Regions from separate parts of the Homo sapiens genome. Here all the other regions are linked to region 5. The links are contacts of gene promoters, found by promoter capture Hi-C in blood cells and fetal thymus (Javierre and others, 2016). All regions are on one chromosome and are shown on one strand. The core of a region is centred on a gene start or on the middle of the fragment in contact, and the rest is flanking DNA. Distances in the headings are between cores, read along the strand shown. Region 1 has its middle 120 kb from the start of SAMSN1-AS1. Region 2 has its middle 160 kb from the start of ASMER1. Region 3 overlaps ASMER1 (adipocyte associated metabolic related lncRNA 1). Region 4 has its middle 150 kb from the start of SAMSN1-AS1. Region 5 holds the start of HSPA13 (heat shock protein family A (Hsp70) member 13). Region 6 has its middle 130 kb from the start of ASMER1. Region 7 has its middle 150 kb from the start of ASMER1.

Evidence for each region. The method cuts DNA at HindIII sites, captures the fragments that hold promoters and counts their contacts. A CHiCAGO score of 5 or more calls a contact.
Region 1: a contact is called between a fragment that was not itself captured here and the fragment with the promoter of HSPA13 in region 5, in 1 of 17 cell types (neutrophils). The highest score is 7.1, in neutrophils.
Region 2: a fragment that was not itself captured here is called in contact with the fragment with the promoter of HSPA13 in region 5 in 11 of 17 cell types (activated CD4 T cells, total CD8 T cells, non-activated CD4 T cells and 8 more); the score reaches 11.0 in activated CD4 T cells.
Region 3: a contact is called between a fragment that was not itself captured here and the fragment with the promoter of HSPA13 in region 5, in 1 of 17 cell types (total B cells). The highest score is 6.1, in total B cells.
Region 4: a fragment that was not itself captured here is called in contact with the fragment with the promoter of HSPA13 in region 5 in 1 of 17 cell types (neutrophils); the score reaches 5.5 in neutrophils.
Region 6: a fragment that was not itself captured here is called in contact with the fragment with the promoter of HSPA13 in region 5 in 1 of 17 cell types (activated CD4 T cells); the score reaches 5.6 in activated CD4 T cells.
Region 7: a fragment that was not itself captured here is called in contact with the fragment with the promoter of HSPA13 in region 5 in 11 of 17 cell types (total B cells, activated CD4 T cells, total CD8 T cells and 8 more); the score reaches 8.0 in total B cells.

Annotation. Positions count from the first base shown.
Region 1 is chr21:14,704,473-14,707,923 of GRCh38, reverse strand. No RefSeq gene overlaps it. Among named protein-coding and RNA genes, the nearest start is that of SAMSN1-AS1, 120 kb to the right of the region's middle. The HindIII fragment of the contact is 1,664 bases long and covers 1,212-2,875 here.
Region 2 is chr21:14,752,077-14,755,355 of GRCh38, reverse strand. No RefSeq gene overlaps it. Among named protein-coding and RNA genes, the nearest start is that of ASMER1, 160 kb to the left of the region's middle. The HindIII fragment of the contact is 1,053 bases long and covers 1,402-2,454 here.
Region 3 is chr21:14,876,285-14,879,598 of GRCh38, reverse strand. The region is part of intron 1 of ASMER1 (adipocyte associated metabolic related lncRNA 1); the gene reads left to right. Among named protein-coding and RNA genes, the nearest start is that of ASMER1, 41 kb to the left of the region's middle. RefSeq lists enhancers at 1-71, 1,480-1,549. The HindIII fragment of the contact is 165 bases long and covers 1,800-1,964 here.
Region 4 is chr21:14,732,308-14,735,655 of GRCh38, reverse strand. No RefSeq gene overlaps it. Among named protein-coding and RNA genes, the nearest start is that of SAMSN1-AS1, 150 kb to the right of the region's middle. The HindIII fragment of the contact is 4,170 bases long and covers 1-3,348 here.
Region 5 is chr21:14,381,542-14,384,762 of GRCh38, reverse strand. It overlaps HSPA13 (heat shock protein family A (Hsp70) member 13), which reads left to right and starts at 1,617. Exons shown (of 5, transcript NM_006948.5): 1 at 1,617-1,668; 2 at 3,220-3,221. The coding sequence starts at 1,644. LOC105369304 (a long non-coding RNA gene) reads right to left here and starts at 1,997. Exons shown (of 2, transcript XR_007067924.1): 1 at 1-1,997. RefSeq lists enhancers at 1,081-1,210, 1,601-1,910. The HindIII fragment of the contact is 7,322 bases long and covers 1-2,520 here.
Region 6 is chr21:14,784,904-14,788,202 of GRCh38, reverse strand. No RefSeq gene overlaps it. Among named protein-coding and RNA genes, the nearest start is that of ASMER1, 130 kb to the left of the region's middle. The HindIII fragment of the contact is 2,296 bases long and covers 433-2,728 here.
Region 7 is chr21:14,768,784-14,771,924 of GRCh38, reverse strand. No RefSeq gene overlaps it. Among named protein-coding and RNA genes, the nearest start is that of ASMER1, 150 kb to the left of the region's middle. The HindIII fragment of the contact is 7,813 bases long and covers 1-3,141 here.

The sequences.
Region 1 (3,451 bases), core at 794-3,293, 320 kb before region 5:
CAAGGATGGGGCCAGGTAGAGACAATTGAATCATAGGGGTGGATTACCGGATTACCCCATACCATTCTCATGGTAGTGAATAAGTCTCATGAGATCTGATGGTTTATAAATGGGAGTTCCCCTGAACAAGCTCTCTCTTGCCTGCTGCCATGTATGATGTGTCTTGCTTTTCCTCTGATTTCTGACATGACTGTGAGGCCTCCTCAGCCATGTGGAGGAAAGCCCTTTCCTTTATAACTTACCCAGTCTTGGGTATGTCTTTATTAGCAGTGAACAGACTAATACACATGGAGATACCCAGGCCTTTATCATTTGATGTAAGTTTGGCTAGCAATGGGGATGTAAGTCTTAGGAAATTATATGCATTTTCCCTTTCCATTATATGCCTCACATGTTGCTGACTATTATTTCACTATAGTCAAGTTTTAAGAATGTGGTTCTATCAGTCAAGATTAAGGCTAGGTGCAGGAAGCGGGGATGATTCATGGATATAAAAGCATCCTCTATTTTATATTGAGCTTATATCATCACCTGGATTAATTTCAAGCCCACTGGCTTGAATGCTTTATCTATAGATTTATTTGATTCTTAAATAACATTTTGAGAAACTCTAATGTCGCTGATGAGGCTTATAAGGACGATTCACAAGAAAACCTATTTGTTTCTCTATATTTGCTTGTTTGCACATCATTCCTCCTGTTGGATTAGTGAGCAGAAGGAATTGTAAAACCACAGGGGAACGGTTTAAATGGGATAATGCAGACATTAGAGAATGATTAACAGTAATTTCACAAAGGTAGAAGGTAAGCTGCTCATTTTTATGGAACGGAACAAATGTGTTTGGAATGATTAACAAAATAAGACATCAAAAAATAGAAAAATGTAGCCACTCAATTCTGCTTGGGCAACAAACCATATGAGATATAAATGCAAATGCCACCCCCCCGACCAGTTCACATGCTTAACATTATTTACTGTTAAACTTCTGCTGGACTGTGGCAGACAACCACCACAGAACATGAAAACCACAATGCTTATATGACAGCTTTCCCAGGCAGTGAAAAGGCAGCTTATTTGATGTGTACTTTTCTTAAATCTTTTTATACTACACAAGCCGGTGTAACTCAATGCTTAACAATAGCATTTCAACAAAAGTGTAAACATTCTTCCATAATTAATAGGTCAGACAATTCACTTATATCCTGAAAGCTTCCAATTATCTTGTAAAATAAAGACAATTCATTCATTCATTAATTCCACATATATGTAGCCTCTATGTGGAACACTATCCTAAGTATTGTGAAAAATGCAAAGGAATCTACATACAGCTTTGTCCTACAGAAGCTGGGCAAGGATATATCTATTCAAAGTAAGTTTTTCACTAGAGATCCTCGTTTCTCCATCACTTAGGCCAGGTTGTGGCCAGCTTTTACTTCCTGAGAGTTGCTACTGCAACTTTTTGAAACAACTTCCAATATCATCCAAGGACCTCTTCTTCTTTATTTCCTTGCCTCCATTTAGAGGCAGATAAACCACACAAATTTCTTAGAAAGTATTGTCTCTAGATTTTCCTGGCATAGCACCCCACATATTTAGCTTTACTCCATGTTTACCCCACCCTGACCCATGGATCAGAGGGACTTAATAAGTACACTCTGGAGCTTTGGTAATGTAAGGGAGGTTCATTCCTAGGAAGGGTCGGCTTTGTTATTGAACCTTAAACCCTTGGTAATAAAATTGTGGCTTATAGACCAGTAGCATGGGCATCACTTGAGGGCCTCTAAATCAGAATCTGCATCCATATGCACACTGAAGTTTGAGAAGCATTATACTATGCTGCTAAAAGGTAAATGAATTGAAAGAGTCCTCTCTTATATTCTTAATTTGAATTCAGATAATTTGAATTAAGAGAGAGTTGGCCAGATTATGACAAACGAAGTCTTGAGTTCAATTCCATGCAGTCATTTAGGATAGAAATTATATCTTTCAGCAATGTTTCTGAAATACCCAGAATAGTGCTGATGTGAAGTAAACGCTAAATAAGTACGTGTTGAATGAATTTATATGTCCTATCCAGCATCAAGTGTAGAGTTCTCTATGTGCCACTGTATATACTTGTTGAATACATATTTGTAGATAGAAATTTGGTATTTCAATTCCCATTTCCCAATCTCTAAGAATCTATTATCTTCATCCAAATGAATTATTACCTAAATGCATTTTATTCAGTCAATCTGTAATATTTATTGAACTTTTATATTCTCCCTTTTGCCAGAAAATTGGAATTAAGGGGAAAACATTTTTTGTTGCCCTCAGAATATTGAAAGTCTAGTTCATTGACAGTTACAAAAATATATGCTATAGTAAAGGGATATGTAAAGTCCAACAGAAATGTAGGAAGATAATTTAACTTTTCTGGAGTACACTAAGAATAACTTCACAGAAGCAATGTTTGAATTGAAACTTAATGAATGAGTAGTATTTAAAGGCAGGAAAGTTTGAGAATATCCTAGACAAAAGAATCAAGGCATAGTAGAGCTTATAAAGTAACTTATTTCTGGAGAAAGACTAGGAAGGGACTATGAGACTGAGCAAGAAGGCAATGACCTCACCAAGCAAACCCTTGCATGGCTTCCTAAGGAGGAGCCTGTGTATCATTGTGGGGACAATGTGAGAGACATTGAATAATTCTGAATAGAGTATGACATAGTTAGATGTATATTTTCGACAGTGTGATGAGTGAAGAAAGACTATAACCAGAGTCTGAGTGACCAATGAGGAGACTATTGTAATAGTCTATATTACAACTCAGACTATGACAATGGAGAGGGAGAAATAACAGAGATTATCTCCTCGTTCAAACATTACTCAAGCTTCTCTCAACTCTTTTTCAACTAGGCCTTAACTCTTGGACTCTGTGGTTGCCTCTGCATTGTCTAACTTTAGCAAGAATCCTAAAAGGCCAGTTTATTCATCCTTAACATGTATCTCACCACCCTTGATTTCTGATCAAATTCTTTATCCTTCACCCTCCCCAAGGTGGTGTCTGAACATCCTAGCCTGTCTTCAGGAAGGATCCTGTGTGGTTGGTTTAGCCAGAACTTCCTCTTTACCCTTATGTTTTCTTTCAGTAATTTTCTATGTACTGGCCTCCATCTTAATCTTTGGCTATAAATTCCCACTTTTTCTTGTTATATTTAGAGTTGAGCCAAATCTCTCCCCCCATTGCAAAGGCCCATTCCAATGAGCCCTACACCTATCAAAACAGTCTCCCTCTGAATAAAATCGGCTTTACCATTTTTAAAAAGTGTCCATTGAATATTTTTTTCCCTAACGAAGAAGAGAGAAAATATTTTCAGGAAGTATTCAGGTGTAAGGATGCAGGGGACCGCCATAGACTTATCTATATTCATTCAGCTTGGGCAAAGTGAGAATGAATTGTTCTTGACAG
Region 2 (3,279 bases), core at 679-3,178, 370 kb before region 5:
AGCATTAATCCCATTTATGAAGGCTTGGCTCCCATGACCTAATTGTCTCCCAAAGGCCCCACTTCCTCATACCATTATCTTGGGGGTTAAGATGACAACAAATCAACTTTGAATGCACACAAACATTCAGATCACAGCAATAGTATTCTTTATGTTTTTATGTATTTACCTTTACCAGTGAGCTTTGTATTTATGTATGCTTTCATGCTGCTGTTTAGCATCCATTCATTTCAACTTGATAAACTCCCTTTAGAACTTCTTGTAAGGCGGTCTACTGATGATGAATTCCCTCAGCTTTTCTTTATCTGGGAGAGTATTTTTCCTTAATTACTAAAGGATAGTTTTTCTGGATACAGTATTCGTGACTGGCAGGTTTTTTTTCTGTCAGTGTTTTGATATATCATCCCACTTCTCTTCTGTCTTGGAAGGTTTCTTCTGAGAAATCTGGTGTTAGTCTCTTGTTCATAACAAGTTGCTTTTCTCCTGGTGCTTTCAAAATTGTTTTTCTTTGACTTTTGACAATTTGATTATGATGTTGCTTGGTGTGTATTTCTTTGAATTCATCTTAGTTGGAGCGTGCAGAGTTTCTCAAATCTAGATGTCCATTTCCATCCTTACATTTGGGAAGTTTTCAGCCATTATTTTATTAAGTAATGTTTCTGCCCCATTCTCTCTCTCTTCCCCTTCTGAAACAACAATAATGCAAATATTGGTCCATTTGATGGTGCCTTGTATGTCCCTTAGGTTTTCTTTATTCTTTGTCATTCTTTTTTCATTTTGAGCCTCTAGCAGATAATTTCACATGACTCATATTCAAGTTTGCTGATGTTTTCTTCTGAATATCAAGTCTGCCATTAAACTTCTCTAGTGAGTTTTGCAGTTTATTTTCTTTTTCAGCTCCAAAACTTCTTTTTTATATTTTCTGTATCTTTCTTAATACTTTATTCTGTTCGTTTGTTATTTCTTTGAGCTCAGTGGGCATCTTTATGACAATTATTTTGAATTCTCTTTCAAGTTGTCCACATACCTCTTTGTAGATCCAGTTTCTGGAGATTTAGTTTATTCCTTTGATTGAGCCATGTTTCCTTGTTTTTTCATGCACCTTGTGGCTTTGTATTAGGATCTGTCACTTCTCCCAGTCTTCAGACTGGCTTTGTTTAGATAAGACTCCCACTAAGTAGCCCATAAAGAGATTCTGGAATCCTCTGAAACTTTTTGGGGTATCTGGGCCTGTGCATGCAATTTCTCAGAGAGGCTTACTGTGTTTTTTGTTTCCCCTCAGGAACTCATTATCTTTTCTGATGTCTGTCTGTGCCACCACAAGTTATCTGGTTCTACAGCTGCAAGTTTCCCACTCTCTTTTGTTGTCAGTGGCTGGCAAATATCCAGGGCATGCAAGCTTCCTATCAGTACACTGAGTAAGGTGAGACAGATATCAGTTTCTCAGAAGCTGGTGTTCCAAGAAGCTAGAATGACAGACTCATTTCTCGCTCCTTTCTCCTTCCCTCTTGAAGGAGAAGCCTTGAGTTGTGCATCTTCTCTTGATTTTACTGAGGTATGGTAGCTATAGCAAACTGCCTACTGCCTTTTTTTTTAACTTTTGCTCTCAGTGGCTCCAAGGCATCGAAACTATGCTAGTTCCATGAGTGCTCCAAGTGAGGCAAGACAGAGACTAGTCCCTTGGGCAGCCCTCTGAAGAGCCAGAATGCCAACACATGCTCCACTCTTCTCCCTCCTTGCCAAGGAAGAAGTCTTAACTTGTGCACTTCCTCCCCCAATTGTGCCATGCTGTGCCAACCATATCAAGCCACCTGCTGCTTTCCATTGTCCTCAGTGACCCCCAGACATTCAAATTATGCTAGTTCTGTGGGCACACCAATCAAGGAAGTAAGAGACCTGTTTCTTGGGCAGCTCTCTGAAAAGCTGGAATGTTGGAGGCATGCTCTATTCTTTTCTCCCAGAGGAAAAAGATGTGAAGAGGCATTCTGTCTTGGCACTGAGCTGTGCTAACTTGGGGGAGAGGCTGATGCAGGTAAATGAAATTGCTCTTCTTAACTCAATTCAATTTGACTATTCTGTACTTTGTGCACACTTGGAATACTGCAACATCTTAATTGAAGTCTGGAATTCATATAAAAATGTTTAGTGTGTACATTTGTGAGCAATTCATGTTTCTGTGTGGGAATGAAGGCTGGGACTTCCTATTCAGCCATATATAGTTAATTATGTGGATAACTAACTTTATTCAGATCACTCATGTTATCAAGAAACTATCCATTAACAAAATTCTCACTTGAAAAGTATTTTTCTGGAAAAAATACTTTTTTATTTAGTGTCTAGGTGTACAATCTCTACTTGGTATGGAGGAAGTCTTGTTTACATTGAAATGCGTACTATAAATAGGATATAAGTAGATAAAAGGGGGCTATATCTTGGGCTCTTCACTTGGAAGCTTTAATTTCAGCAATTTGAACAGATCTCTCATTGTTCTGAAACATCCCTCTCCCAGGAGAAGATGGTTGGGTTTAGTGTAGGGGTGAAGACATGTTCAGAAGAGGGAATTTTTACTTAGGGATTGCAGAGTTAAGGTTTTAACAATATATTTCCAACTTTGATGATGCAACATACAATTTTTGTCATTTTAATGGAAGACAATAAATTTTATGTCCAGATATTCAGAGAAGGGAGGAATTGTTATTTTGTTTGTGTGTATTTTCCTCTTTCTCCTTTGCTCCCCTTCTTGCTGGGAGTTCCCATACCCATTTCCTTCATATTGGTCTACTTGTTGCCATCTCTTCCTGTTGAATGCTTTCATGAATTCTATATTTCCCCTTGTAGATTGTCATGCAAGCACTGCTTATTATTTCTTGTTTATCTTTCTTCTCCAGTGACCATTGTGTTTTCCTTTTCTCCTTTATCTGACCCTTCCTTTCTCTTCTTTAGAATAGTTGCTTACTGCTTACAGGAGTGCTTTGAATGCTAATGCTATAATTCAGACACTGATTTTTAAACAGAATCCAAAGATTACATTTGAGGCTGGCCTGACTCAGTATCTGCCATATGCCACTAAAATAGTCTATTGTTTATTACTGTTTTATTGTGTTCTTATACAGTTTTATACTGCTTGGGTGTGATCTGGCACTGTTAGCTTTATCCACTTCAAAATTAACCAAGCCATCTGGAGGAGTATAATTTAGAGGGGGAGCACATGGGTTTGTGAATGCTGACATCTTGATTGTGCTCTGAGGGTGTCTCTTATGTTTCTTCATACTCCAGTTT
Region 3 (3,314 bases), core at 633-3,132, 490 kb before region 5:
GGGTCTGGGTCACCAGCTGCATCCAGGAGTCCCAGAGGGTGTCGTGAATGTTACTCACAGTGTAAATGGATCTAGAACACAACTTACTTAGAGCCATATCTTCTAGTTTTGATTTGTGTTAGAAGTGATCACAAAGTCGTTTAAACTTAAATGACACTGTCGAAACTGACATCAGTGAAAAGTATTTATTATAAACGTGTTCATTGTATATCTTAATTTCAAGGCTCTTACCGTTTTCTGTGCTTAAGTATTCTCTAATGAGAATCTTTACAAAAATTATTAAGGTGGGAAGCAAGTGGTATTATTCGCATTTAGATAGATAAACGGTGACAAAGATGCTTTCTTAAAAAGTTTTTAAACAAATATTGAGTCACAGGTAGGACTTGTTTAAACAAGTGAAAGCATTTCCAATAAGTACACATTGAAAAAAACGGACACATGGGTTGCATGAAATAACAGCTTCATGTGATCATCTCAGGGAGTTTTCCTAAGCATGCTGATTGGATTGGGTTAGTATTCGGTCAATGGCTTTTCCATACTTTTAAAGTTTGCCATCATTACTTCAAGAAAGTGAGTCTTGTCACTATCATTAAATACTTATTTGGAGCTCTGTAGCTATTTATTTCACTTCTTGTTTGAGCTTTAACACTGTGAAGATCTCAGATATTTTCCATTCATTATTCATATGAGGTTCATTGGATATATTCATCCATTTCTTTATTTTCTCTGCATCTGATATGGTTTGGTTTTGTCCCCACCCAAATCTCATATTAAATTCCCACGTGTTGTGGTGGGTCGGGGGGACCTGGTGGGAGGTCTTTCCCATGCTGTTCTCATGATAGTAAATAAGTCTCACGAGATCCGATGGTTTTATAAGAGGAAGTTTCCCTGCCCAAGCATTTTTTTTTTTTTGCCTGTGCCATCCATATGAGACATGCCTATCACCTTCCACCATGATTGTGAGGCTTCCCCAGCCAAGTGGAACTGTAAGTCCACTAAACCTCTTTCTTTTGTAAATTGCCCAGTCTCAGATATGTCTTTATCAGCAGCAAAACGGACTAATACAGCATCCTCTACCATTTTCAGCAAACTCCTTTTTATTCTGTAGTACTTTATATCTCTGATTTAAATCACATTTGCTGTTCTTGAATTCCTGTTTGAGCAAAACAAATAAACAAACATAAATGGCGTAGAATTAGTTGAAGAAATTGCCTTAAGGTAAGGCTCCAAATCTGACTATTTTAAAATATCTTAGGTTTATCTCTTTTAGATATGCCAATCTCAGGGCAGAGGTAGGTGAGGAAAGAGCTTATATGACTGCCCCTTCTCTGAGATTCAAAAAACGAGAAAATAAATTCTGTTGTTCAATTCTAAGACAAGTGGAAAAGATCAAAGACTTTATTACAGTTTTTTTATTTTTATTGAGCAGATTCACTTGGAACTTTGGCTTGCATGTGGAATGTTTACCTTTTAATAAGTGATCTGTTTAAATGTGGATCAGAGAACAAGGGTTTCTGTTTTACAGTTCAACTTTTGACCTTGGGGGATGAATGGGTGGAGGCTAAGAGGAAAAGTCCACTGTGTTTCTGCTGAACTTTTTACCCTTAAGAAAAAAATGAGCAAGTTTAAAGTTCACACAGTGCACAAGAGGTCTCCGCTGGGGATTTCTCGTATTATTAACTTCCTGACCTCAGATAATTAAAAAGGAAGAGCAGAGCCACCTCAGACTGTGACTCAACTTTGAACTTTTAACCTCCCAAGTAAAGTATTTAAATTGTAAATGGTAGACCCTGGAAGCTTTCTTATTGCTATTAAATTCCTTCATCCTTGGTCACAAAGTTATAATCTAGGCCAAAAGCATAGCCTGATCTTTCCTTTTTATTTACTTAACCTCTTTTAACAGAAAGGACTGAGAACACTATTTACCTAGAAATGACAGGTATTCTGGTGAAAGAAGTTAAGCTTAAAGGGTCACTGAATTTTGGAGCTGGAAGCAACCATAGATTATCTGTCCACTTCCCTCAGTGTGGAAAGAGAATACTGAGAACCAATTGGTTGAGTGACTTCCTTAAGGTCAGATAGTTAACAGGAGAACAAAAGAGCATCTCTAATTCATTAGCTGTATTTGTTTCAGTAGAAGAAGGATTAAAGCACGATTGGGGTTAAGGAATATTTCCCTATATTGCATAAGGGTCTAGAGGATCTGTGGCTTCTTTTTCTTTTTTTACATTAAAATTCATGAAGTAAAAAAAATCACTAGATAGGGATCAGGAGATCTGGGTCCTAAGTAGTGGCCCCTTCGCCCTTATTTATTGTGGAACCTTAGGAACTCATTTAACTTTTCCAAGCTGTGATTTGCTTTGTTGTAAAATGAAATACAGTTGGGAGGAGGTAATAAGCATCTGAGACCCCTTTCTGTTATAACGTATTTTGGTTCAATGGTATTCTTGCCTTAAGAATTCTCACTGCAATTTATGTTTAAACCTGAGCAGATATACAATTATAGGCAACATCTGTTTTTTTTTCTTTTTTTTTTTTTTAATACAAGATAAGGCTAGATGGCTGTGGTTTTAGGGTAATTGGTTATATCATGCTGAGCTTGACATCGATGGTAAGGTTCTCCTTATGTTAAAACAAAAATCCCAAAGGAAGCTGGGAATATAATGTAAGGAGGAGTGAGGGACAGAAAAAGGAAGAACAAAAGAAGCCAGACAAAGAAGAAGGAAGAAGAAGGGATGATCAGGAGAAAAGGCATCAGAAAGGAGGGTGACGGGGATGGTGGCCCCTCAGTTGGATAGGGACTCAGTCAAAGCTTGTCATACTGACAAAGCCAATGAGGACATTGTGAATCTGCCAGAGTCACATGCTGTTAATACCAAGGCTTGGATAGGCAGCTCCCACTGGCACTGGTACAACACACAGCATGCGGGACAGCCAGTGATCGGTGGGGCCCACTCTTCCCTCCTGCTGTTTGCTAACACCTTTATTGCCTCCAGTTAGTTACTCACACCACTCTCATTCCCATCTGTCGAGGAGCGTTCCCTTCCAACATTCTGTCCTCCTTCTCATATACGAGAAAAAGACCCTCCCAGTGTGACTGCAAACTGCAGAATGATACTGAGCTCTGAAATCAGGCAAGTTTGGAGTGGGGTTAGCAGTGATTTTCTTGTTTCCTAGTCCTAAGGAGTAAGCAGGTTGGAACTACAGGATGCTACTCGGGACCCTTCTGCAGACACAGCTGGAGGAAAAGGAGAGCGAGATGGCTGTCTGGCTGGAGGCCTGTTTGCACTGCCCTGGAGGCAGGACATCCCATT
Region 4 (3,348 bases), core at 712-3,211, 350 kb before region 5:
GTCTTTGAGCTACTTTACAACTCTTTCAACTGTATATGACTAACAGCAATGCAAATGATTCTTATCCTTAGCCATACAAGTAAATTTTGCCCATTGGAAATACAATTAAGCTCCTTCTCCAAATCCTTCTCTCACTCCCACAGAATAAGCCATTTTTGTGTTCACTTGTACATTTATTTAAGCATTGTTGTTTTTACATGTGTAGTACTTTGATTTAGTCTTTGAAGGTTTGTGATATTGTAGACGTTTCCTCATTAATTGATGAATTAAATAAAATCTTTCAGATATGTTTATTTTATTGTATTGGATGGATTAAACAACAGAAATTTCTTTTTTTCACAGTTCTGGAGACAAGAATTCTGAAATCAAGGTGTTGGCAGGGCCATGTTCCTTTTGAAACCTGAAGAATCTTACCTTGCTTCTAGCTTCTGCTATTTGCTGGTTGTCCTTGGCTTATAAATGCATCATTCCAATCATTCTCTGCCTCCACCATCATAGGGCCATTTTCTCCCTATGTTTTCTCTGTGTCTCTTCTCTTAAATACAGTATTTATATTGGATTAAAGGCCCACTCTACTCCAGCAAGATCTCATCTTAACTAATGACGTCTGCAATGACACTATTCCCAAATAAGGTCACTTCCTGAGATGCTGGAGGTTAGGACTTCAACATACTTTTTTGGGGGACACAATTCAACCCGTAACAATTTCTTATACTAGAAACTTGGTTCATACAATCTATTTCTTTCCATTGCAATGTAAGAAAATAATTTAAACAGCAACCTCACAGACACTAAATCTTCCTGGTTTTGATCTAATAAAAATCTTGGTTGTACTTGACATATGATTTTGTTTGCATCCACTTTTATATAGAAACTCTCTTTTACATTATTACTAAAGTAACCATCTTTTGATCACAGTTTGTTCTAAGTTTCTTAGAATGCTTCTTGCTCAGTCTACTGAACTGAGATGTAAACTCAGCAACTATTTGCTGTAGACTCTGCTTTACAATATGGCTTGGGGACGAGAAAGTCCCTGTGGGTCTGTGGTATCTAACATAGTAGCCACCAGCTCCATGTGGCTATTGAGCATTTGGAATATGACTAGTGTGACCAAATTTTAAATATTATTTAATTTTTAGTAATTTAAGTTTAAATAGCTACGTGTGGCTGATGGCTGCTGTATTGGACAGCACCTCCTAGAGTAGCGCTGCATTGTGGCCCCGGTAAAAATGCTTCCTAAATGAAGTAACTGAAACCTGACTCAAACTATGTTAAAAAAAAAAAAAAGAAGAAGTTGTCAAGATACACAGTGACTCACAGACCCCAAGAACAGAAATTTATCTGGGACCAGGAATAATGAAAACCTGGTACACAAATGTCATCAAGACTCTTGACTCTGCTCTCTGAGCATCTGTTCACTTGATATTTGTATGAGAGTGATGATTATGTCCTCTTTTAAAAATTACCCTTTAATAGTTTTGAAGTTTCCACCAAGATGCCCAAAATTCATGTGACATAGCCTGGTAAGCCACATTGCTGGAGAGGTGCACCTCATAGGCAGCCTAAGCCCAGACACCTCTCTTCTTGACTCCCAGAAGTGAATCACAATCCGCAATAGAACTATACATTTACTTAACCTCTGTTTCTGTAATTCTTTTTCCTTTCTAATGATCTCGTGTTTTGTTTTTGTTTCTGGTTTGTGCATGGCCAATGAGTTATGCACTGGTGGTAGTGATAATTGGGAATTTGTTTTTATGGTCTGATTATTTGTGGTCTCTGTAGATGGTAGATAGAGATATATTCTCTGTTGGGTAAGAGACAAGAGGTAAACTCGTTTACTAATGTTTTTGCTTGTTTGTTAACTTGTTTATTTTTGTGCTTAGAATACTTAAGAATTTTGTGCTCACTAGAAAGGAGTGCAGCTATTTGATATCTGGACTGAGATTTTTGTGTTTCTCTGTTTACAGTTGACCTGTGGCTAAAGTTTTAAATCTGAAACTATACACTCTTGGTGACTCTGTATGTTTATGCTTCTATAATTCAGAAAAAACTTTAACTGTAAACTATCTTCTTGGCTGGGCGTGGTGGCTCATGCCTGTAATCCCAGCATTTTGGGAGGCTGAGGCAGGCGGATCACGAGATCAGGAGATCGAGACCTTCCTGGCTAACACGGTGAAACCCCGTCTCTACTAAAAATACAAAAAATTAGCCAGGGGCGGTGGCGGGTGCCTGTAGTCCCAGCTACTCGGGAGGCTGAGGCAGGAGAATGGCATGAACCCAGGAGGCAGAGCTTGCAGTGAGCTGAGATTTTGCCACTGCACTCCAGCCTGAGCGACAGAGCAAGACTCTGTTTCAAAAAAAAAAAAAAAAAAAAACTTCCTATCTTTAGATGATACTTAATTAGACTGCAAAGCCTCTAAAGTTATAGGAGCTGTATTCTGAGTAGATTAAAAATACATAAAAATGAATATTACTAAAATGTCTAGAAAAATAAAAAATAAACTTCTAATACTTTAAATGTGCTTGAATTAAAACATTCTTACGTGAGTTAACTTGGAAATGCTTTAAGAACTCCAATTTCTATAACAAAGGTAAATCTTTGGTAAATGAAACTAGATCTATAATTTTAGTTTACTAGCAACAGCAGTCTTCTCCTTTTTATCAATGCTAATATATAAGCATGCATTTTATTCTATTTGGGTTTGTTTTTCTTAAACTTAACCAAGTTTACTGATCAAATAAGCTAACATTACTATTATATAATGTTTAATATTGTAAAAAGGACACATTTGTATATATTTAATTATTCTAACAAAGTTTTGTTTGAACAGTAATTGTGTTATAATATGCCAGCTGGAAGACAATACAATTTCCAAGCTCATGGACTGAGTGGATTGCATTAAATTGATTAAATTGGATTGATCTTTGTCCCTGTTAATGGACGTATTCATTTTTGTCTAATTAAGAAAGTGTAAACTGGGTGAGGTGGCTCATGTCTATAATCCCAGAACTTTGGAGGCTAAGACAGGAGGATCATTTGAGTCCAGGAATTTGAGATGAGCCTGGGCAACATAGGTAGACCCCATCTCTACAAAAATTAAAAAATTAGTTGTGCTTGGTGGTGCATGCATGTGGTCCTAGCTACTTAGGAGGCTGAGATGGAAGGATTGCTTGAGCCCAAGAGGTCGAGGCTACCGTGAGCCATGATTGAGCCACGTTACCACTGCACTCCAGCTTGGGTGACAGAGCAAGACCCTGGCTCCAAAAAAAAAAAAAAAAAAGAAAAGAAAAAAAAAGTATAAAATGTATTTGTGTGGCTGTTGAAAGACATATTCTGTGTGTCCATGA
Region 5 (3,221 bases), core at 368-2,867:
TTCAATCTTAATTCTAAAGGCCTTCTACTCTGAGATCACATAATCTTTACCTGCTTCTTGAACAAATCAGGATCTTGTTAGCAAGGAGAAAGGAGTGAGTGGCAGGGAGAATCCCAATGACCAGTGCTTGTCACAGACGGCTAATCTTAATCTGGTTTAAGTCTCTAGTTCTGTCTCTCAGAATTCTACCTCATGCTTTATGATCCACCACTTTCTAATCTATGGAATAGATGATCTCTTGCTTCTGTGCTCTTGGTAATTGAGTTCCGTCTGCCTGGAACACCTCCAGCCCACTGCCCATTACAAGTAATACTTAAGAACTAAGTGCTTGAATTCTTCACTCCTTATAAGAATCTTATTGAACAGCACTCACTATAGACACACACTTTTTATATTTCGCATTATGAAATACTTAAAAATGCGCAAAAGTAGAGAGAACATTACAATGGATCCCTATCAACCAGAATTCAGCTTCCATAATCAAAATTCACATTGATAAGTCAGAAATAACCAGCAATGTATTCCCACAGCAGGCTGACGTGTTGTCAACAGGGATGGTTTGATTTATATCTAAGCTGAGAAAATGGATTCAATTCTCCAGGATCTTAGTTATCGTGAACTCTAACAGCAAAAATGACAAAACCACTCTCAGAGGAGTCATTAAGTGCTACCAGTGACCAAGATGCGAGAAAAATCCTACTTCAGACTAGAACCTGAACAGCATGTCACAAGCGTCCTAAAATGGCTGTCACGTTACAGGACTTGCCCATAAGGTCAATTTTGGCCACTTAAGACTTACTTGAAGAGAGAGCTAAGGGTTTTCTTTTTAATTTCGTTTTTGTTTTTGTTTTTAATGGCCCACGTCAGTGCTAGCAATAGAGAAAATGTGTCCCTGATCCCTTGGATAAATCGAATTGACTGAAGAATGCTTGAATTCATTTATCCCAAAACAAAGGCAGACGGCTGAGGGTCACTGGAGTTTCAGGGCTGCTCCCAGCGTTGGAGCACGGACGCCAGAGCCGACTTCCCTCAGGCCCCGCACTGCGGCAGGGACCCTTCTACGGAGGATGGCTGGGGCTCCGGGAGGCTATAGGAACGCCATCTAGAAGCTAGATCTCAGGCAAACGAACGCGCTTTAAAAGGAATTAAAACGAAAGAACACAAACTCGAATCCTGGACCTGATTAGGGGCACGACCAAAGAAAGAAATAACTAACGGTTCTCACCCTCCCTTTCATTCCCTCCCGCGGAAAGAGAAAGGCTGGAACTCCGCTTCCCAGAATGCAAAGCGCGGGGCGGGGCTAAAGAGATAGCCTGTTTTCCCTCAAGTAGGATCGCGGGACCACAGGTTTGATTATAAACGCCAGTCTCTCGCCACGGCGCTCCTCCCCCTCAGTCTCACTGGTCCTGCCGGCCGTTGCGTGGAAGGGGGACTCAGTCGTCACTGGCAGCGGTTGAATGGAGGCTCTTTGCCCCGCGCCCTCACGGTAGATGAAGTCCTTGCTTTGGTCAGAGCGATAGCTTCTCCGATTGCCTCAGAGCAAGCGGACTACATTTCCCAGGGGGCTGCGGGACTGCCGGGAGGAGTGGGGGCGGTGCCTCACGTCTGGTACAGTCATCACAAGCCTGTTCGGCGGGACTGTGATGGCCAGAGAGATGACGATCTTAGGTGGGTTCCCGGGGGTCCTTGTTGCTCTTGCGGGCGTAGAGGCGATCTGAGGATGCCAGAGTGGGCAGGGGTGGTTGACTCACCTCCTGGATCTAGCTGGAGCAGCGGAAGGGGAGTCAGAAAGGTGACTTAGAGACGGTTTTCGGCTGTTCGGAGTGGATGGGGGCGGGGACGCCTCTAGGAGGGCCCCGGCCCCTGCAGGCCAAGGTAGGATAGACGGCGACCAGCTGTGTCCATCCCAGGGACATCAGGCTTAGGGAGGCGTTCCTTTCAACAGCACCTAGGTTTTTGAATTGCCTGTTGAATTGGGGCAAGCTATGGAAGGCTGCGAGAACGTGCACCTCCAGGACCCCTTTGTGGAGGAAGGGGGAGGAGCTACATCCGGATCTGTCGGCTCAGGGATGCTGAATTTGGAGGCTTTTTCCATCACATCGGGTTTGGAATTACCTATCCCCCACCCACACACACACCCACCCCGCGTCTCCAAGGTGATGAAATGCTTCTGAAATGTTGCCTGTAGCTGGAAGTGGAAAGTGGGATTCGCACTTGGTTTTATTTCTTTGAGTTATGTGTTGATGAGGATGAGCTAACAATTAGTAACACAGAGCCCTGAAAATTCATGTTTTGGGTCATATGTAATATGAGCGGACACAGGTGTATAACACAGCCTCCTGATACCAAATACGAGATTCATTAAAAACTAAAGGGGCATCTTTCTTCGCTTATGTTTACAATCTGCGTGGCATTTGTTCCTACTCTTTTTTCTTTTTTTTTTAAATTAGTATTTGTTGGGCATCTGCTATTCCTGGTCTGGGGGATACAACAGTGAACGAAACTTGTCTTCAAGAAGCTTTCATAGATGTTGCCGTCAGGGTTGCCCACCTTTATGCTTCTTCTCCCCTAAATATTACCACTGCAAGAAGGAAGTCCCTAGTTCATACTTAAATACATAAAAAGTTAACTGTGTTCTGTTTTGAAGTGACAGTTTCATATCTAAGGAACTTTCAAAATCATTTTATCCCATTTATTCATTTCATCCTTTTGAAAGGGAAAAGGAGGTGAGATACGAGGAGAGAATTTTAGACTTATAAAATAATAAAGTTTTTCTTGTGAGAATTTTAATAATGGAGCTTTTAAAAAAAGATAATCGAAGCTTTTTATAAAGCTGTAAAATCTAAATATCAATTGATCAAGAATATTAGATTATATCTGGCTTTTGCTCCAGATAAATGTTGTTTCTTGTCAGCATCTGCACAAATATTATTGAAATATTTTTACATTTTATTACATTTATTAGAGAATGACACAAACATACAGTTATAGGGTTTTTTGTTGTTTGTGTTTACTTCATTTTAAATTTTATTATAACCAGTTTACATTTTGAAAAACTTGCTGTCTGAGAGGAGTGCTATCAGCAGTCCTATAAAAAATTTTGAAATTTGTCTTTTTTAGCCTTGTTTCAACGAGTGATATTAAAGGGACTTTGCTACAGTAATTTAGTACATTGTACTAGTTTGATAAAATACATCTTTTAATTTTCCTTTATTTCAGGA
Region 6 (3,299 bases), core at 331-2,830, 400 kb before region 5:
TTCAATCAGATTTTTTTTTTTTTTTTTGTCTTCCAGGCTTTAATGCTTGCTGTGTAATTGATTTGTGCATCTGGTGAATGGCAGACAAGCCACAACCTCAAGGTCTTTTTCCAGAAACTGCCATATCTCTTTTCATATCTATTTAGCCTGCATTTTTGTACTCAATATTAGGCGCTATGCAGATATTTCAAGGGAGTAATGATTGCTTTTTCTATATTCTTAAGTTGTAGATGACTTGAGAAGTGGCAAGGGACAGCATGGCCTTTTTCTGCATGGTGATTATTTTTAGTTTAGTTAACCACATGTGGTGGAAATTATTATTGTTCCCAATTGTCTGCTCCTTTCCCAAGAGGTGTACATCCACTCCTTTTGCCATCTGACTACTAGTGCAATCCACTAGAGAGAATACACCTACAGTGCCATTGGTAAGCTTGGACATATGACTTTATTAGGGGATGTACATGGACATAATATAAGCCATGTTTTAGCAGATAGAATTCTTCATCTGCCTAGCCTGGGTCCCAGCATAAAAAGATACTTGGAGCAGAGCTGAGCAGAGTTAACAGCAACTCTCAGACTTGTGAGTCAAAAATGCATCTATTGTTGCAAACCACAGTATTGAGATTTTAGGGTGGTTTGTTTTCACAACCAAACCTATTAACACACTGTATAAACTGTGAAATTATCATTTCCTCTGATGGGCCATGTAGACACCTGCCATGGCTGCCAACCATAGAGTAGGTTATCTCTTTGAATGCTCTGCAAAGAAAGAACTGCTGTCACCATCCATTATTTCACACATTTGAAGGTAATAAGCAAGAGAACTTTCAACTGTGAAGAACATCTGTAAATGAATATGTTTTCTACTTCTCTGTAAAAGATGATCAATAGACTAGGTATGGGTGAGCAACTTAAGTTCAAAATCAGAAATACGTGTGGTACCTGTTAGCCTATTGTAAGAGCCTGCTCTTAGAATGTTCTCATTAAAGTGACTATTTAGAAGAACCATGGGAATGTCATTCATTCACTCAATCATTTGCTTGTTCATTATTATTATTTCCATGAGAACTAGGAAGATATTAACAGAAAAAGGTGGAGTCTTGGCTTTTAGAATAAGAAATAAATTCTGAGGAGAGATAGAAAGATCCACTAACTCATCCTAACATCCAGGGCACTCTCAGTTTTGTAGACTGATTCCAAAGCCAAATATTTAGCATTTCCCATAGATTGACATAAACCTTAGAATGGTTAGCATATTTTATGCCCTTGTGAAGTATTGGGCAAGTAAGTAGTTTTCTCCATTCTTGGTTATGGTCATCATCTATGACTTTTTCTCCACAGTTAAATCTAGTAAAAGTGGTAAAACAAAGAATATCGGTATACCCGTTTTAGTTAGTTAGTAGTGAGGACATAGTTTAGAAATCTATATCCTATTTCCCAGAAGGATCTGCAGGTTGGGTGGTGATGGTAACAAGAACATCCCAGGTTAGAAGTAGAGTGTCTTCTTAAGAGAATAAGTTCAAAGGGCAAATATCACGGACATGTGAGGAAAGAGTAGGAGTTTTCTGGGAATCATTTCAAACTGAGAAGAGGGGATTAAGTTTTAAAGAACATAGCCTGTTTGGTCAAATTGTTAAGTTTGAGAATGGCCCCCAAGTTTTTCCTTTTTTCCCCTTAAAATTTTGTTTAAGCATAACTTACATATAATAAAATGCACGCATCTTAAGTATACAATATAATGAGTTTAAAAAAATGTATAACTCTTATGTACCACCAAATTAAGACATAGAATACTTTCATCACTCCCTCAAAAGTACCCGTATGTTACTTCCAGTCAATTCCTCCATCCCTGGGCCCAGGCAACAAATTATTTACTTTTCACAATAAAATAGTTTAGCCTTTTTAAAAATTTCATATAAATGAATTTTTAATGAAATCTTTTGTGTTTTTCTTTTGCTCAGCATATTTTTGAGATTCATCTGTGATGTTACTGCATCAATAGTCTATCTTTTTCTGCTGCAGTGTTATATTCCATTGTATGTGTATACCACATTCTATTTTAACCATTTACCTGAGGTTAGAAATTTTGCTGGTTTCCAGGTTTTGGAAACTGTGAGAATAAAGCTGCTTATGAACATTCAAGTAAAATCTTTGTGAACATATGTTTCCATTTCTGTTAAACAAATATGTAGGAGTGGAATCTCCAGATTATATAGTAGGTATGTATTTTAACCCTTTGAAAAAACTGTCAAACTCTTTTCCAAAGTAATTGTACTATTTTGTATTCCTACCAGCAGTGTATGAGAATTCCTGTTGCTCTGTTTCCTCTTCATCACTTGGTATTGTCTTTTAAAATTTAGCCATTCTTTTGAGTCTGTGTAGTCTGCCTTAACAATATAGCATCTTTTCATGTGCTTATTGGTCATTGGTATATCTTCTTTTAGAAAGTGTCTGTTTAAACCTTTTGGACATTTTAAATTGCGTGTGTGTATGTGTGTGTGCGCATGTTCTTATTTTTAAGTTTAAGAGTTATTTATATTTTCTGCAGATATATTCTTTGCCAGATTATGGATTACCCAACCTGTGGCTTGTTCCTTCACTTCTTAACATTTTTTAGTGAAGAGTAGAAGTTTTTAATCTTAATAAGGTCCAATATATTCGCATATACCATTTGTTTATAGTTCATGTTTTTTGTGTCCAGTCTAGAAAAGTTTGCCTTCTTCAAGCTTACAAAGATTTCTCATTTTTTTTTTTTGCTAGAAATGTCACAGTTAGCCTGATGAGCCACATTGAGTTTTATTTGTGTGTGGTGTCAAGTGAGGGTCGAATTTCAACTGTTTCCATATAGTTATTCAGTTATTCCAGCATTAATTGTTGAAAAGACTTTCTTTCTCCCATTTAATTACCTTGTCATCTATATTGAAAATCTATTAACCACGTCTGTATGATTCTATATTTGAGTTTGCTATTCTATTTTATTGATCCATATATCTTTTTAAAAAAACATTTAGCACTACCTTTTCTGATTTCTGTAAATTTAGTCATCTTTTATATTTGTTTTCCAAAATTGTTTGGCTATTTAATTTCCTTCTGTTTCCATAAAAACTTTTATTTATTTATTTATATTTATTTATTTATTATTATACTTTAAGTTCTAGGGTACACGTGCACAACATGTAGGTTTGTTACATATGTATACATGTGCCATGTTGCTGTGCTGCACCCATTAACTCGTCATTTACATTAGGTATTTCTCCTAATGCTATCCCTCCCCAGTACCCCCACCCCATGACAGGCCC
Region 7 (3,141 bases), core at 99-2,598, 390 kb before region 5:
ATGAAAAACTGCTGGACTGAACTCACATTTGAAAGACTCCGTTTTCCTGTAAGTGCTGAGGTCTGACAATATGTCACGTATTAAAGTCTGCCAAGCTGTGGCAGTGGAGCTATCTTTTGGCTTTTCCCTGCACCATGTGAGCTAAGTTTCCTGTACATAGAAAGATCCTTCTGAAGCAGGAGCACAAAAGAAAGAGACAGGTACTTCTTTTTAGTTTCCAGAGGTTATGTAAATATTAGATCTTGCTGTCTTGTCTACAAGAAAAGTGAGTGTGCCCTCAAGACAAATGTGCTGAAGGAGTGCTTGTTTGTAGAAGCCAAAAGGATCATCCAGATATTCTAAATGTTACAAAAGCTGGTGAAGACCTTGTGTTGTGAATCTTAAATTGCCAGTTGGTTCTTTTGCTGGCAAAGGCAGCAGGCTCTTTTCAAAGTGGGATGACTGTAACAGCAGTTAAAATTAACACCTAGTATTTGTTTACTGTTGCTGCTGTAACAAATTACCACAAATTTGGCAGCTTAAAACAATACCCATTCATTATCTTACAGTCCATGAATCAGAGTCCGAGTACAGCATGGCTCAGCTAGGTCCTCTCAGATCAGCACTTTACAAAGGCTGAAATCAAGGTGTAAGTGAGGGTGAATGCTTCTTATCTAGAGGGTCTGGGGAAGAATCTGCTTCCAAACTCACTGGTAGTTTCCAGAATCCAGTTTTATATTAGAGTCTGTATTTCCCTCACACATGGCCCCCTTAATTTTTAAGCCCAAAATAGGAGGTCTAATCCTTCTTATGCTTTGAACCTTACTTCTCCTTCTGCTACCAGCCAGAGAAAAACCTCTGATTCTAAGTGCTCATGTGGTTAGATTAGGTCCACCTGGATAATCTTTCCTATTTCAAAGTCAGCTGATGAGTTACTTTAATTATATCTTCAAAGTCCCCTTTGCCATGCAATTTAAAATATTCCTGGGAGTAACTAAGGACAAAGATTACAGGGGCCAGAATTCTGCCTACCACACATCCTCAGGTGACATTCTTTTAGTTTACTTAAATGAATTTTTGTTTCATTTCTAATAGTTATGAACATATAATAGTGTTAAAATAGTTACATTGTGACTTGCATAGATTCACCAGTCTTTGCATTTTTATTTTTTTATGATAAAGTCTTCATTTTTCCTCTATAAGCTACATACCCAGGCCCATTTCAATCTTCTCAATACTAACAGGCAACTTCCACAGTTAACTCTGGGCTTCTTGTGTAACAAGTTTGTTACTTTGTCGTTGGTCATGAAGCAGGGCTCCTTAAAGATCTTCAGGTATGGACACAGGTAGAGACAATTCATTTATCCTAGTTAGAAAAATCCACCTTTATGTCAGTGATCCTCAAACTTTAGGGTACATGAAAATCACCTGGAGAACTTGTTTAAACTTCAGACTGCTGGGCTGCACTTCTGAATTTCTGATTCAGTATCTATGAGATACTGAATATTAAGATACTGAATATTAAGGATCTATCTATGAGATAGATACTGAATATTAAGGATCTATCTATGAGATAGATCCTTAATAATTTGCATTATTAACAAGTTCCTAGTGGTATTGTTGCTACTGATCTAGGGCTTACATTTTGGAAACACTATTTTAGGTTATTTTATTTCTATTTCTCTACTTATGAAAAAGCACAAATTTGCTGCTTCGTATTTTGGGGACTACGTGCAACATATGTGTTGCTGTAATTATTTTACACTTACCCCATCAAATAATGTTCATGCAATAGAAAAAACCTGAGGAAAAAAAAAGTGACACGGAAAGAAGTTTCTTATTAATGACATTTAGGGCATTTCCTTGTAGGTACCAGGCAAAGATGAATTTATTTTTAATCCCTTATTTTTTTGCTTTAACGAAATAATGACCTATGAAAATTAAGCGTAAGACAATATAAGGAAGGGTAAGAAGGGAGATCCAAAGAAGAAAGCAAATTGTTAACATGTGAATGTTTTCACTGGGAGTAATGTTTCCAAAAAAGTTTTTTGAATTTGATTTATTAGGTTGGTGCAAAATTAATTGCGGTTTTTGAAGGTAGGGAATTTTCAGCAAATTAGGATATTATTTCTTGCAGATGACATTTATTTGTTTCATATTACAATATTTTTATGAATAGTAATGATCACTAATTCTAATGAAGATGACACGGATGAAGTGCTTGGCATATTTCAAAATAGTAAAGGTGAAAACTGGAATCTGTAAATGGAAACATTTAAAAACCATCCTCTGTCCAATTTGTTGAAGTTGAAAAGACAAACAATATGACAAGACTATATATAAGATGCACTAGGTGTGGGTTTTGGTGGATGGGGGGCATAGAAACCAAATGGAAAACTCAGGGATAGAAGGAAAGAACTCTGATCAAAGACAAGGGAAAAGGTGACAATATTGAAAAGGGTTACTTTGCCTTTTCCCAGTGTTATAGTGGCTTTCCAATTCTCTTCTCTGATCTGTTTTCCTCAATATGGCTCCAACTCAGCGGCTAGCTTCTCAGAACCCAGTCGGGAAAAGTAGAAAAATATAAACCTCAACACATCTGAGATTCTTCAGTGTCCTTTAATGTTCAGGAAATCTGACTCTCAGATAAGTCTGCCCCAATGTCCTGACCATGCGTGTTCAGAAGAAAAAAGCATCAAACGCCATGGATGAAGGCAAATGTGTTTCACACATTGAGATTGTTAAGGAAGTCTAGGATCTATGTGTAATTTTACTACTTAAATTTTATACATGTGTTTTGAGATGAGTTTTAATAAACTGACAATGATATATAACCAATTTGTGGCAAGAATAGACTTAGGAGTCATGCCATATGTTAGTATAAAACCTAGCTATGGGCTTGTCTCAGGCTTCATTGTCTGGGACAGTTCATTACAGAATAGGCAGATAGGGCCATATCCTGTGTAGGATAGATCATTTTGTTTGTTTTGGTTTTTTGAGATGAAGTGTCGCTCTGTTGCCCAGGCTGGAGTGCAATGGCACAATCTTGGCTCACTGCAACCTCCACCTCCCGGATTCAAGCAATTCTCCTCCCTCAGCCTCCCAAGTAGCTGGTATTACAGGCATCCACCACCACGCCTAGCTAATTGTTGTATTTTTGGT